3 separate regions of the Homo sapiens genome follow, and regions 1 and 2 are each linked to region 3. Evidence: promoter capture Hi-C in 16 types of primary human blood cells and fetal thymus (Javierre and others, 2016). All regions are on one chromosome and are shown on one strand. The core of a region is centred on a gene start or on the middle of the fragment in contact, and the rest is flanking DNA. Distances in the headings are between cores, read along the strand shown.

Region 1 (4,715 bases), core at 1,576-4,075, about 120 Mb before region 3:
CCCCCTAAAAATTTAAGATTCCTCTTTAAAAGTGGTTGGACCTTTCCTTCCCTCCGGCTTCATGCACTTTCTGCTGTACTGACATCACTTTTGTTTTTTGTTTTGAGACAGAGTCTCACTCTATTGCCCAGGCTGGAGTGCAGTGGCACAATCTTGGCTCACTGCAACCTCTGCCGCCTGGGTTCAAGCAATTCTCCTGCCTCAGCCTCCCGAGTAGCTGGGATTACAGGCACCTGCCACCGCGCCTGGGTAATTTTTGTATTTTTAGTAGAGATGGGGTTTTACCATCTTGGTCAGCCTGGTCTTGAACGCCTGACCTCGTGATCCACTTGCTTCAGCTTCCCAAAGTGCTGGGACTACAGGCGTGAGCCACTGCGCCCAGCCAACATCATCTGTGTTGTGAAAATCCCACAGACCGTAAAGTTTCTAAAGGCACAACTTTTCATCTATTTCCAATTCTGGTTCAATTTTTTTTTTTTTAAATCACAGATTCTCAGAAGACAGAGGCAGCAGCAGGAGCATGCTTTTTGAATCTTCTCAAATCCCCACCTAAAAACAGAACTACTAAACAGCAAAACCAAAAAACTTATGGACATTTGTAACAGAATGAGGTGACAAGTGTTGACAAGGATGTGGAGTGAACTGGAACTCTCCTGCCTGACTGGAGGGAATGTAAAGTGTAAAGTTCACACTTGGAAAAGTTTCACAGTTTCTTAAAAAGCACACACCAGCTGGCTGGGCTCACACTGTAATCCCAGCACTTTGGGAGGCCGAGGCAGGCGGATCACGAGGTCAGGAGATTGAGACCATCCTGACTAACACAGTGAAACCCCACCTCTACTAAAAATACAAAAAAATTAGCCGGGTGTAGTGGCGGGCACCTGTAGTCCCAGCTACTCGGGAGGCTGAGGCAGGAGAATGGTGTGAACCCGGGAGGCAGAGCTTACAGTGAGCCAAGATCACGCCACTGCACTCCAGCCTGGGTGACAGAGTGAGGCTCCATCTCCAAAAAAAAAAAAAGAAAAAAAGAGCACACACCTGCCATATGACCAAGCATTCCATTCCAAGGCATTTACCCAAGAGAAACAGAAGACAAAGACGAGGATATAAATGTTCACGGCAGCTTTATTTGCTTTATTTTTATTTAGAAATTGGAAATAATCGAAATATCGGTCAACAGGTAAATAAATAAACTGTGGTATATCCATGCAATACAAAATGTGGATTATTGATGTACACAAAATGGGTGAATGCCAAAATAATTATGCTGAGTAGAAGCACCTCCCCCCACAGTACTTGCTCTGCGATTCCACTCAGATAAAATTCTAGAATATATAAATTAACCTTTAGTGAGAGGGAGCAGACCAGTGGTTGCCTGAACATGGAGGACACGAGGGACGGTTTAGACCGGGGTGTGAAACTGCTGTTGGTGGTGATGGACATGTTCTGGCGACAGCTTCACAGGCAAATGCATCGGTCACTTCACGTATGTGCAGTTCATTACCTGTCAGTTACACCTCAACAGAGCTGTTTTAAAAAGCAAGGTGGGGCCGGCTTTGGTGGCTCACACCTGTAATCCCAGCACTTTGGGAGGCCAAGGAAGGAGGATCGCTTGAGGCCAGGAGTTTAAGACCAGCCTGGGCAACACAGTGAGACACTGTTCCTATTTTAAATAACAAAACAAAACAAAAGTGGTACAATAACAACTTTTAAAACTCAAAAAGAAACAAAGAAAGAGATAAAAGAGATTCAAGAGACAGTGGCAAACACTGAGAACAGCCAATTTAGATTTCAACATACAGATAACAGGGATCCCCACAGAAAAAAGCCAAAGCAAGAAAAATGTAACACTAAACTCCAGTTCAAGCAAATCTTCTTAAAATAACAGATATGAAGTACACATAGAAAGAGCACACCATACGCTTGCAAATATGGACCAGGACAACCAATACCAACACATGACACATTCGAATAAAACGGCCGACTTGACAGAAAAAGGAAAAAATCCTTTGGGCATCTAAGGAAAAACAGCATATGACTGTCAGGGGAAGAAAACAAGATTCATCAGGCTTTTCATGCATCACTTTATGCTGGAAGAAAACAGAATAAAACAAGATACTCAAAGAAAATCTGGGCCAAGAATTTCGTATCCAGCAAAACTGAATTCAACATCAGAAACTCAAGGAATACTGTCCCCAAGATGACACTGACTATAGACTGGTTATGAGACCTGAACACACAGAAATGAGTCAATGGTGGTAAAAAGGAGCAATTTTTCTGACAACGTAGACACAGTGCTGTTTTCATCATCACAATTAATGCTATGGTATTAGTATTTTTTTTAAATGCTAAATGCTAAAGAGGAATAAAACAAGTGAGTGATTAAGGGATGGATATTCCATGCCATTGTCCTGTGTCTTGAGAAGCAGGATTCCGAGTGCAGGAGACACAGACATCATATAGAGGAGGCTATGTAAAGGCCCCAGGACCCTGAATTTGTATTGGGAATATCAATATAGGCTCAGAAAATATTCTTCCTTTAAATATGTGTGTGCAATGTTTGTATTTTTTTAAAGCTCCGTCCAAAAATCTAGAAATAATGACCAACGCAATAGCAATGAGCATCCTAAACTGGATCTGAAATACCATCTCTACCAGAGACTCTGGGAAAAATAATGGATTCCAAGTGTTAAACGGAATTAAGTTTGGCCTAAAACTGCCTCTGTACATAGTGACTTATAACCTCACTTAATGTATAAGCAAACTGGGACCTGACTTGAGAGTACACTTCTGTAACAAGCAGCAGAGTCTCACCAATCACATGCTGAAGGCTCCCAAAACATGCCTATGTGAGGTGGAGGCTGACCTGCAGTCAGTCTGGCCATGTACATGTGTCTTTCCCTTCCTGTGGCTATAAATAAATACAGCCTGCACACAACGCACAGGAGAACGTTCTGAACCACTTTTGGTCCTGAGTGCTACCCAGCTGAAGAAACTATTTTCTGCTCAATTAAACTGCTAACTTGTCTAAAGTTTTTCTTTTAAGACAGGTTTGGAGCAGAAGCTCTATAAATTGGGCCTAGAGCATCTTGACATGCCAGGCTGCAGGGAGCTATCAATGACTGTGCGTGTGGTCTGTGCACACATGTATGCACACATGTGCACACTTATCAAAAGAAAGCAAGAGCCAAGCTGAAGAGGCTCCCTCTCACTGACCGAATAAGCTAGTCTGAGCTAAATAAAGATAAAAATCACAACGGATTGAAACCCACCAAGTATGCTTAACTCCACAAATTCTTTTTTTTTTTTAAGACAAGGACTTGCTGTCGCCCAGGCTGGAATGTGGTGGCATGGTCACAGCTCACGCATCCTCGACCTCCTGGGCCCAAGCGATCCTCCCATCTCAGCCTCCAGAATAGCTGGGACAACAGGCAGGCACTACCACACCCACCTGATTTTATTTTAATTTTCTGTAGAGACAGGGTGTCACTATGTTGCCCAGACTAGTCTCAAACTCCTGGGTTCATGTGATCCTCCAGCCTCAGCCTCCCAAAGTGCTGGGATTACAGGCATAAGACACCATGCCCAGCCCATGAATTCTTGTATATATGTAAAAACCCTTCACCACTCACCTTCCTTGACAGACAACTAATGCATTATCTTAAAAACTTAGTGTACAAGAGCAAAGAATCAAGCATTTATCCTGCCCTTCCTATATGAACTGTACCACTGGGTAACCAGATAAGTATAAAAAAGAAAACACTTTCTTAGAAAACCATTCCAGCTAATAAAGGCAAGCAAAACGACAGAATGAGAATACCACCATTTTGCAACCCCAAATAATTAATGGATCTTGGCACTGAGCATCAGCTGCCGTCAACATGGTACTTTCCTGAGGAAAGCTCCTAACCGCCTGTTCTCCTGCCAAAGGGATCAAATTTGAGGCTCATCAAGCCTCTGGACCCAGCTGCCAATGTGCAGGAAACATAGAGGACCATGCTGAACTACACCATGACCACGTGGTCAGCAAAATCTACACTGTGGGAAGCCATGGGACAAACAGCCCAGGCTCTTCAACAGATAAACGGCAGGGAAAACAGTGAGGCCGACGGGACTGCAAATGGACACTGAAGTAGATAAAAAAATAAACAAAAAAAAGCAGACAAGACTAAACTGCCATCAAAAAACCAAGAAAGTCATTTCTGTAAAAGTCAGGATTACTTGTTGGGGCAAGGAGGGGGAGAAGAAGAGGGCTGTGGCTGGAGGGGCACTTGGGAGAGCCTCCTGGGGTATCTGGCAAAGTACTATTTCTTCACCAGGTGGTGGACACAAAGGTTATTCACCTTACAATCATAATCATTCAATAAGCTATACATTTGTTTTGTGTCACTTCCTGTATGTTTTTATAATAAAAAGGTTTAAAACTAAATAAATAATCATGTCAAACTTTTACTACTTTTTTTTTTTTTTGAGACAGAGTCTCACTCTGTTGCCCAGGATGGAGTGCAGTGGTGCAATCTTGGCTCACTGCAACCTCTGCCGCCTGGGTTCAAGTGATTCTTGTGCCTCAGCCTCCCAAGTAGCTGGGACTACAAGCCCGTGCCACCACACCTGGATAATTTTTGTAATTTTAGTAGAGACAGGGTTTCGTCATGTTGGCCAAGCTGGTCTCAAACTCCTGACCTCAAGTGATCTGCCCGCCTTGGCCTCCCAAA
Region 2 (4,862 bases), core at 523-3,022, about 96 Mb before region 3:
TGTCCTTATCAGAATAACCCTTATATATCCTTAATTATTTTTCATGAACCTTTCCCTCATGTTCCAGTATCCTCTTAGTTGCTTCTCCTTTGTGCTCTGGTGGTACCTTGTGCTTTTATATGCACAAACACACACACACACACACCAGTTTTGTTACATAAAGCTGCACAAAACGAATACATACAATAGAAACTTAACTTGCCTATAATACTGATGATTTGAAGGGAGTTGAAGATAAAGGGATAAGAGACTTAAAATTCAGAGGTCTTTCAGATTATACACCTTCATTAACTCACAGCCCTAATTTAAGAAAGTAAAACTTGAATCTCTTGTGTTTTTTACCAGTAACATCTGTAATCCTTACAGACGATGTTAAAGTTGTGTACTTATTTGTCTTTCTCACTTTCTAGACTGTAAGCTCATTGAGAGCAGGACCTATGTATTTCACCCTAATTCCCAGAGCTTTGTAGCGTGCCTGGCCCAGAGGAAGTTTTCAATAAACATCTGTTTTATAAGACACTGAAAACTTATGGCACTATATCTTTATGCTTGAAACATTAGTATTAGTCATGCAGGGAAACAGTATTTAAGGTTTATTTTAAAGGATATTGAGAAAAGGTTTTGCGTTTATTAAGAACATGCTATGTGAAAACAGTACTTTCTTAGAAAATATAAAGAAAAATACAAATAAAACGTCTGTTTTATAAAGCACTGAAAACCTATGGCACTATATCTTTATGCTTGAAACATCAGTATTAGTCATGCAGGGAAACAGTATTTAAGGTTTATTTTTTAAAATAAATATTTTAAAATAAAATATTGAGAAAAAGGTTTTGTGTTTATTAACATGCTGTGTGAAAACAGTGCCTTCTTAGAAAATATAAATAATATAAATATATAATATTAAAAATATAAGTATATAAAAACAAAATATAAAGGAAAATAGCCCTTGTCATTAGTGAAGTTACTAAAATTACAAAGCAATGTAACAAGTTGAAGGCTTTACTTTGGTTAATGCAAAATAAGTGGCATAAAAAACACTATAGTTTGGAATGATCTAGGAAGACTTCATTTAAGAAGTGAAACATGAAACTAAGTACTTTGTGCCCCACTCTAATACTCTTAATCTAATACTTGTTTGTCATTATATGAATAAGAGCTTGGGTTAGACAGATCTGGCCTTTTCACGCAAGAGTGGTCATGAGACAAAAGAGTAGACCAGTTTAACTGAAGTTGAGGGTTTCTATCTGGAGTAAGAGATAAGACTGGAAAGAAACAGGCTAAGTCATTGAAAACCTGGAAATTCAGGTTGTAAAATTTGTAGTTTATTCTGATAGCAATGGCGAGCCAATATAATTTTGGGAAGAGTGATATGACATTAGGATTTTTGTTTTATTTTCATTGTCAGGATGGCATCAGAAGTGGCTTTCTGCCTCTTAGAAACCTTGTTGATTCTCTTAACCTGAAACTTAAAGTTGGCTAGGGTTAAACAGAAGATGTCCAAAATAACAGTATTAAGGAGAATTTTTTAAATCTTTGGAACCAAAATAACTCACACATAATTCTTTAAGAAAAGAATATATATACATATGTACATACACATATATATAATATTTATACATATGTACATTTATTTATGTATTTATTTATTTATTTCGAGATGGGGTCTCGCTCTGTTGCCCAGGCTTGAGTAAAGTGTGAACCTGGCTCACTGCTTGACTTCCCGGGCTCATGCGATCCTTCCACCTTGGTGTCCTGAGTAGCTGGGACTACAGGCATGTACCACTATGCCTGGCTAATTTTTTTCTTTTCAATTTTTTTGTAGAGACAGGGTCTCAGTATATTTCCTAGGCTGGTCTTGAACTCCTGGGCTCAACTGATCCTCCTGACTCAGTCACCCAAAGTGGTGGAATTACAGGCATGAGCCACCATGGCCAGCCAAGAAAAAGATATATTTATTGGCTGGGTGCGGTGGCTCACGCCTGTAATCCCAGCACTTTGGGAGGCCAAGGCGGGCGGATCACGAGGTCAGGAGATCAAGACCATCCTGGCTAACACGGTGAAACCCCGTCTCTACTAAAGGTAAAAAAAAATTAGCCGGGCGTGGTGGTGGGTACCTGTAGTCCCAGCTACTCCTTCACCGCAGAATGGGGCTGCGACAGAGTGAATATCCTGTTTGCCGTGTAGCCTATATTTAAAATCAGACTGTCCTCCTCAAAAGCAGCTGGAACTGAGGTTCAAGAGATGGATGTGACTGTGTATAGGGAGAGGCATACCATTTTTATTTTTAAAGTATCAAGAGAAATCATGATTTCACATTAACAATACAAAGTTGCAAAAGCAAATGTGAATAATGAGCAGGTACTGATTTGGCCAGCTTTATAAATGTGTAACTTTTAAAACTGGGTTATTCATCTTTTTAAAAATAGTTTGTGGAAGCTCATTGTGTATAGAGAAAATTGGCCTATTGTCTGTTGTGAATTATAGTTTTTTTTCAGTTTGACCTTCTTAAAGTTTTTTTCCCCCTTAAGGGTATTACATTCGCCCATGAAATTATATAGTAAAATCAATCAATTTTTTTCCTTTAGAGCTTCTTGGGTTTTATGCCCTATTAAGAAAGGCTTCCCCCAACTCCCAGATTATAAAATAATACATCTAGACTTTCTTCAGTCAAGTACTCTATAAATCTGTATTTTATTTTTAAAAATAACAACAGAGTAAGGAGTAACGGTAAGGGTGAAACATTACCTTGATCAAAATACCATTTATTGACTGGCTTATATTTTCTCCCAGTGATATTGGATACTGCTTTTCTCATAAGTTAATTTCTCATATGTGTTTGAACTCTCTGTTCTGCTAAGGCTTTCCCATGTGATTTCCTAAACTTGGGTGGTTAATCCCCTCTAGTTGCCACTTGGTCTCCTCTCTCATTGGTGAGCCCTATCTTTACTATCCCCAAACTAACTATACACTAGCAGGGGCCAGGGAGACTAGCCAGGATGTCAGATACTTTGACTGAATGCCTAAGAGAGAATCTCAGGGGTTTTACTATAATAGTTGCCTGAACTTACTTTCTTTTTGAGACAGAGTCTCACTCTGTCACCGAGGCCAGAGTGCAGTGGCACAATCTTGACTCACTGCAAACTCCACCTCCCAGGCTCAAGAGATTCTCACGCCTCAGCCTCCTGAGTAGCTGGTATTACAGGTGTGCACCACCACACCCAGTTCATTTCTATATTTTTAGTAGAGACAGGGTTTTGCCATGTTGGCCAGGCTGGTCTCAAACTCCTGGCCTCAAGTTATCCCTCTGCCTCGGCCTCCCAAAGTGCTGGCATTACAGGCATGAGCCCCAAGCACAACCACATATATAGCTTTAATTAGGTGAATTTTCAGTAGAAATTTCCAGTAGAGCTATTTGGCAAACTATTTCTTTTTCAGTTCAAGTTGCCTTATCCATTTAAAAATAAAGAGTGTGGTCTGGAGCTAAAAAGCCTGGGTTTGAATTTCTGCTCAGCCATTTACTAGCTCTGTGACTTTGGATGACTTACTAAAAGTTGTCTCCACCACATAGGTTTATTGTGAATATTAAATCCATAAATACACATAAAGTGTCTAGAATAAGTGCTTGATGTATATTGAGTACTTAATAAATATTGGTTATTTATATCATAGGAACCACTATATCATATCATAGGAACTCTGAAGATGATTAAATATCTAAATGCTGATTTGTATATGTTTGTTTGAAAGGGGACAATTCATCTCTTTCGAAAACCACAAAGATCCTTTTTTGGCAAGTTGTTACGGGAATTTAGACTTGTAGCAGCTGACCGAAGGGTAAGTTATTCCTTAACCCCAATTTTAATTATTGCACAAACAACATTATAACATTGAAGAAAGATAATTTTTAAGGCCAATAGAAATCACTCCTGATCCTGCCACACTGTTTTCATTTTTCTATGTTGGAAAAGTATTTTTTTAGTGTAAAATTGCAGTTGTTTGGTGTTAAGTTGTTTTACTTTGGTAGGAAGCTTCTGTTAAAGTTTTGATTCTAATTCTGAAGTGTTTTAAAGAAAAATGGTTTTGTGGTTGCTTTTTGTTATTAAGTTTTCAAAAAATTAAATGGATCCAGTCTAAAGCCATGTTTTCTCTTTTATTTATTTTTTTTTTTTTGAGATGAAGTTACACTCTTGTTGCCTAAGCTGGAGTGCAATGGCATGATCTTGGCTCACCGCAACCTCTGCCTCCCGGGTTCAAGCGATTCTCCTGCCTCAGCCTCCCAAGTAGCTGGGATTACAGGCATGGGCCACCACGCCCGGCTAATTTTTTGTATTTTTAGTAGAGATGGGGTTTCACCATGTTGGTCAGGCTGATCTCGAACTCCCGACCTCAGGTGATCCGCCCACCTCGGCCTCCCAAAGTGCTGGGATTACAGGCGTGAACCACCGTGCCTGGCCCATGTTTTCTCATTTTTAATGTAGGGCAAGAAAAATATGTTTTGAGACTGTAAATAAAAAGATGTAATTGCCATCCTTTTAGGCCACCAATGTAAACCTTCTAGTTACTGTGTTTCATGCTTCTCATTGTTGTCTAAATGATAAACTCTCTGAGGGAAGTGACTGTCTCTATTTTGCTCACCTTTTTATAGAAGTACAATATAAACATTCAGTAAATATTTGATGACTTTTAAGTAAAGCCAGCTTCAATGAAACAATAATAAGCAGTACCAATGGGCACTCCAATTGAAACTCTGCCATATTTTCACTATTTTTCAACTCCGTTATCCTCATTTGCTTCCTTATCCAACTTAGATTCTATGCTCCATCATTATCATTTCCCTCCTTTTTGTTCTTTTTTTTTTG
Region 3 (4,596 bases), core at 1,895-4,394:
CCTCAGCCTCCCAAGTAGCTGGGATTACAGGCGCCCACCACCATGCCTGGCTGATTTTTGTAATTTTAAATAAATAAATAAATAAATATAAATACAAACCTGTACATGAATGTTAATAGGAGCTTTATTTGTAATAGTCCAGAACTGGAAAAAACCCAAATATCCTTCAATAGGTGATGCTAAAATGAATCTGTATGTTTGTACCATGGAATATTACTCAGTAATAAAAAGGAACAAACTACTGATATCTACAACTTGTATGGCTCCACAGGTGGTTATGCTGAGTGAATAAATAAATAAAAAAGCTACATACTATGTGATACTATTCATATAACATTCTAGAATTGAAAAATTTTATATTTAATGATCAAAATGATGGTTGCCACAGGCTAGGGGTTTTGGGGGTAGGAAAGTAGTTCTGACTTCATAAAGGGGTAGCACAAGGGAGATCTTTGTGGTGCTGCAATAGTTGTGGGTCTTCATTTTGGCAGTGGTTACACAAATGTACAGACATACACAAAATGATGGAAATATACCTGTCTCCCCCACACAATGTACCAAGTCAATTTCTGGTTTTCATACTTTAATATAGATATTTGAAATGTAATCATTGGGGGAATGGGCTTAAGGGTACAAAGTACCTCTGTGTACTATCTTTGCAACTTCTTGTGAATTTATAATTATTTCTAAATAAAAAGTTTAAAAAATTTTTTAAAATCTGTTTTTATTCAAATAAGGTAGCACTTTTCAGAGAAAGGTTTAGAAAAGGTGAAATCCAACTTTCCTAGAAGCTCTGTGCTACCACTTAGCTGTATTTTAAAACTAAGCAAACTTTGGTTTTGTTCATGGATCACATAGCAGAAGATCAAGATAAGGCCAAGAAAAAGTATATAATCAACTTTGTAATGAGGTGAATTAACAATTTCCTTTTTATTGAAGCATTAGCTGATGTGATTTAAAGAGGGCTAGAAAATACACTATGGAAAGCTAACACAACAGCTCCCTTGTGAAATAAATTTTAAAATGCTCATGTTTTTTTCTTTTCGTAGGTGTGTGTACACATTTAGTTTTATTGTAACAAAGCAACTTGTACACTTTTAACATTTAAAACTGAGCATGATCTTTCCTTTCCAGTGAAACAAAATTTAAAAATAAACAGGAACAAAATTACAATAGAGAATGTCAATTCCAAATAAGATCCTAGAGGTTCTGCTGATTCTCCCACTGAGTGGCAGGGCTCAAGTCATCATTAGGAGAGAATTTATTTTAAAAGCGTCATCTTAAACTGCAAGGATGTGTGTCAAACATCGCAATTAAACATGCCAAAGGAGAAGCCATGTTGTCAAAATGTCCGCTTAACCCACCCAAACATCTCAGACCCACCCTTTGCTGACTTCTAGAATCCCATTTTTTAAAGTTTTTTTCTTTTTTTAAACAAGAGAAAGTAGACAGAAAGATGTTGGTAAATGCTAACTGTCCATATTCACATAGAGACCCAGTGTACTCTCCGAGCCCAATATACAGAGAAAGCAGGAAGAAAGCTAGAATTGAATGCTCTGCTACACATGGGCCTAGAGCCCTCCAGCTTCCAGCAGGGCGAAGGGAGCAGGTTTTTCTTTTTTCCCACAGAGCTGGGGTGATGTTGATTCTATACAGTTTTTGCTCAGACAGGAAGGGATAAAAATGAATTTCGAACAGAAAGGGGTAGAGACTCTTTTCCCATTGTATTCTGCTGAAGTTATTTCCCCCAAAATAAGTTGAGAACTATAGTGTAGAGAAAAGAAACCTCAAGAACAGGGCGACTGAGCACAAGAGAGAAAAAACAAAAAACAAAAAAACAAAAAAACTGCAACTTGCTCCCAGGGACTGGAGAAAATGTAAAAAAAGGAAGGTTGGAATCCATCAGTGTTTTTTTGCTGTTGTTGTTGCTGTTTTTTTTTTTTTTGAGATGGAGTCTCCCTCTCTCGCCCAGGCTGGAGTGCAGTGATGCGATCTCTGCTCACTGCAAGCAACCTCCGCCTCCCGGGTTCACGCCATTCTCCTGCCTCAGCCTCCATCCTCAGCGTGAGCCACCGCGCCCGGCCTCCATCAGTGTTCCATTAGTCATCTCCTTCATCCTCCTCTCCTTCCTCCCCTTCATCATGTTGGCTCATGTTTATTTATTAAAATTATTTTGGGCCGGGCGCAGTGGGTCACGCCTGTAATCCCAGCACTTGGGAGGCCGAGGCGGGTGGATCATCTGAGGTCAGCAGTTCGAGACCAGCCTGGCCAACAGGGTGAAACCCTGTCTCTACTAAAAATACAAAAATTAGCCAGGCGCGGTGGCGCACGCCTGTAATCCCAGCTACTGGGGAGGCTGAGGTGGGAGAATCGCTTGAATGCGGGTCGGGGGGTTGGGGGGTGGGGGGCGCGGGCGGGGGCGCGGAGGTTGCAGTGAGCCGAGATCGCGCCACTGCATTCCAGCCTGGGAGACAGAGCGAGACTCCAACTCCAAAAAAATATTTTTGGCTTTTCATTCACTTTGACTTAATATACTTAAAAATATACCCTCCAAAGAGGTATTCATTTTTGGGTGGGTTAAATGCTACCTATTCCAAAACAATTTTAAACTGGTTTATATTAGTTAAAAAAAAAATACTAAAAGGACAAAGTAGTCCCTGTAGACTAAGCTGCCGCTGTCCGAATAAGAAAGCTCAAGCGGCTCATAAAATTTAAAAAGTCTTCCTTTCATCATGCCTCCTGGAAGGTAGCTATCAAAATTTTAGGGTTTAGTATAAAGTCTAAGATGCTCAGAAACATTAAGACAATTGTCCTTACTGTGCCACCGAAAGGCTAAAGGGAGTAAGCTTTTAACAAAGGTTTAAGGGAGTAAGTCCCAGAGTCCAAACTGGATTTCACCGACTGACTGTTGAAGCTTTCGGGTCTCAGCTGTTGGCCCAACGAACCTTCCCAAGACCTTGAAGACCGGCAGCCTACCCGCCACCCTGAAAGGCGGAAGTGAGGAGAGAGGCAGGACTCCCCCCTCCCCAACCCTCGGAGATGAGAGGGCGACCGCGCGACGCTCTGGGCTGCTAGGTCTCGACTCGGTATCCGGAAGTCCTCCAGCGTTCGCCTGCAGGAAGCGGAAGTAAAAGGGCGGCCGGCAGCTGGGCAATTGCTTTGCGAGGCTGGGTGTTGAGTCGAGCCGCGGGAAAGGCGCGTGTCGGCCTCTCACTGGCGCAGCCTGCACTGCCGCTGCCGCCTCGCCCCGCCCTGCCCTGGCGTTGTCTCTGGCACTGTGGCGGACTGACCACGGCCCGGGCATGGGCTGCAAGGGAGACGCGAGCGGTGCGTGTGCCGCGGGTGCGCTGCCGGTGACAGGTACCCAGGGGTGGCGTGAGGAGGCCTCGTGGACAAAGAGAGGGTTTGGGGCACAAGGCGACCCTGTGCCCCTGTCACATTGAGCTTCCGCCTCTACCGTGACTCAGTTTACCCTCTGGTGTCCTATCCCTTCCCCTATTCGCGAGCGCCCCGAGTTGCCCTCAGTGGTCTTCTTGGCAAGGTATCGCTTCCGCGGGGGTGGCGGCGGGCTCTGTTCAGCGGTCTTGAACCTTCTTTGAAGAGCTTTAGATCCTTGTGCCAAGTGCAGAAGGAAATGGGGGAGGTATCCTACCATGGATTTAGACCAAGCTTGATCCTCAGTGAGTTGAGAAGCAGCACTTTGCAGGACCCTGATTGCAGAACGACGTGCTTTTTAAAATAGATTTCAATTTTTCCTAAAATGAATTCGGGTTGATGCGTATTGGTTACTGTTTTCTTTTAACACTGTGATCTGTTGGCTGGAAATTGGATGATATGGTTTCACTTTTAGCGTGGGACCTGCCAGAATGAGATCTGCGTCCGTCGCCAATAACTTATAGATGTGAACTGTTTTTGTTCCTTGGCCAGAATCTGCAGTTGTTTTGCATTTCTTGCCAGATTTGAGAAGGAGCAATTTTGTTCGTTTGAAGTCCTGGGGTCTTTTGCCTTATTGTGCTACACTAACTGTTTTGGAAACATTCATTGATGTACTTGCCAGCCAATTTTAGTGTAAAGTGCCCTCTTTCCTTCAAGAATCTTACACTTGCAGGCGTTTGAAGACATTTTAAATAGCTATTTAACAGCACCACAAAACTTGGAATAATTGTAGCCTTTTCACTTTGCTTTTTTTTTTTTTAAGCCAGTCGAATTTAGCAACACTTGACTTGCTTTTGATAAACTTAGCTGAAGCTTATTTTAAAAAAATTCTTATTTATTTATTTATTTATTTATTTTGTAGAGATGAGGTCTTGTTACCTACCAGTCTGATCTTGAACTCCTGGCCACATGAAACTTATTAAAGGAAGTGACCATAATACTTTGTACAGTAGCATAGCACATTTATAATGCACATTGAACTTCAGGGGAATATATGAAAGTAAGAAGAAAATTTGCTTAGAACTTTCCTGCAGCTGTCTGTGAGCATTTTCTTTTTTTATCTAAGTTTCCCTGTAACAATACAAGATGATGTGATAATTTTCTTTCTTTCTTTCTTTTTTTTTTTTTTTTTGAGATGGAGTTTCACTCTTGTTACCCAGG

What was found. The method cuts DNA at HindIII sites, captures the fragments that hold promoters and counts their contacts. A CHiCAGO score of 5 or more calls a contact.
Region 1: a contact is called between a fragment that was not itself captured here and the fragment with the promoter of UGGT1 in region 3, in 1 of 17 cell types (naive CD4 T cells). The highest score is 5.9, in naive CD4 T cells.
Region 2: a fragment that was not itself captured here is called in contact with the fragment with the promoter of UGGT1 in region 3 in 1 of 17 cell types (non-activated CD4 T cells); the score reaches 6.4 in non-activated CD4 T cells.

What each region holds. Positions count from the first base shown.
Region 1 is chr2:3,540,323-3,545,037 of GRCh38, forward strand. RNASEH1 (ribonuclease H1) reads right to left here. Exons shown (of 8, transcript NM_002936.6): 8 at 1,108-4,715. Among named protein-coding and RNA genes, the nearest start is that of RNASEH1, 16 kb to the right of the region's middle. The HindIII fragment of the contact is 6,001 bases long and covers 1-4,715 here.
Region 2 is chr2:32,167,537-32,172,398 of GRCh38, forward strand. SLC30A6 (solute carrier family 30 member 6) reads left to right here. Exons shown (of 14, transcript NM_017964.5): 2 at 3,751-3,837. Among named protein-coding and RNA genes, the nearest start is that of SLC30A6, 4.1 kb to the left of the region's middle. RefSeq lists an enhancer at 1-164. The HindIII fragment of the contact is 4,514 bases long and covers 1-4,029 here.
Region 3 is chr2:128,088,056-128,092,651 of GRCh38, forward strand. It overlaps UGGT1 (UDP-glucose glycoprotein glucosyltransferase 1), which reads left to right and starts at 3,145. Exons shown (of 41, transcript NM_020120.4): 1 at 3,145-3,360. The coding sequence starts at 3,303. RefSeq lists an enhancer at 2,907-3,216. The HindIII fragment of the contact is 755 bases long and covers 2,913-3,667 here.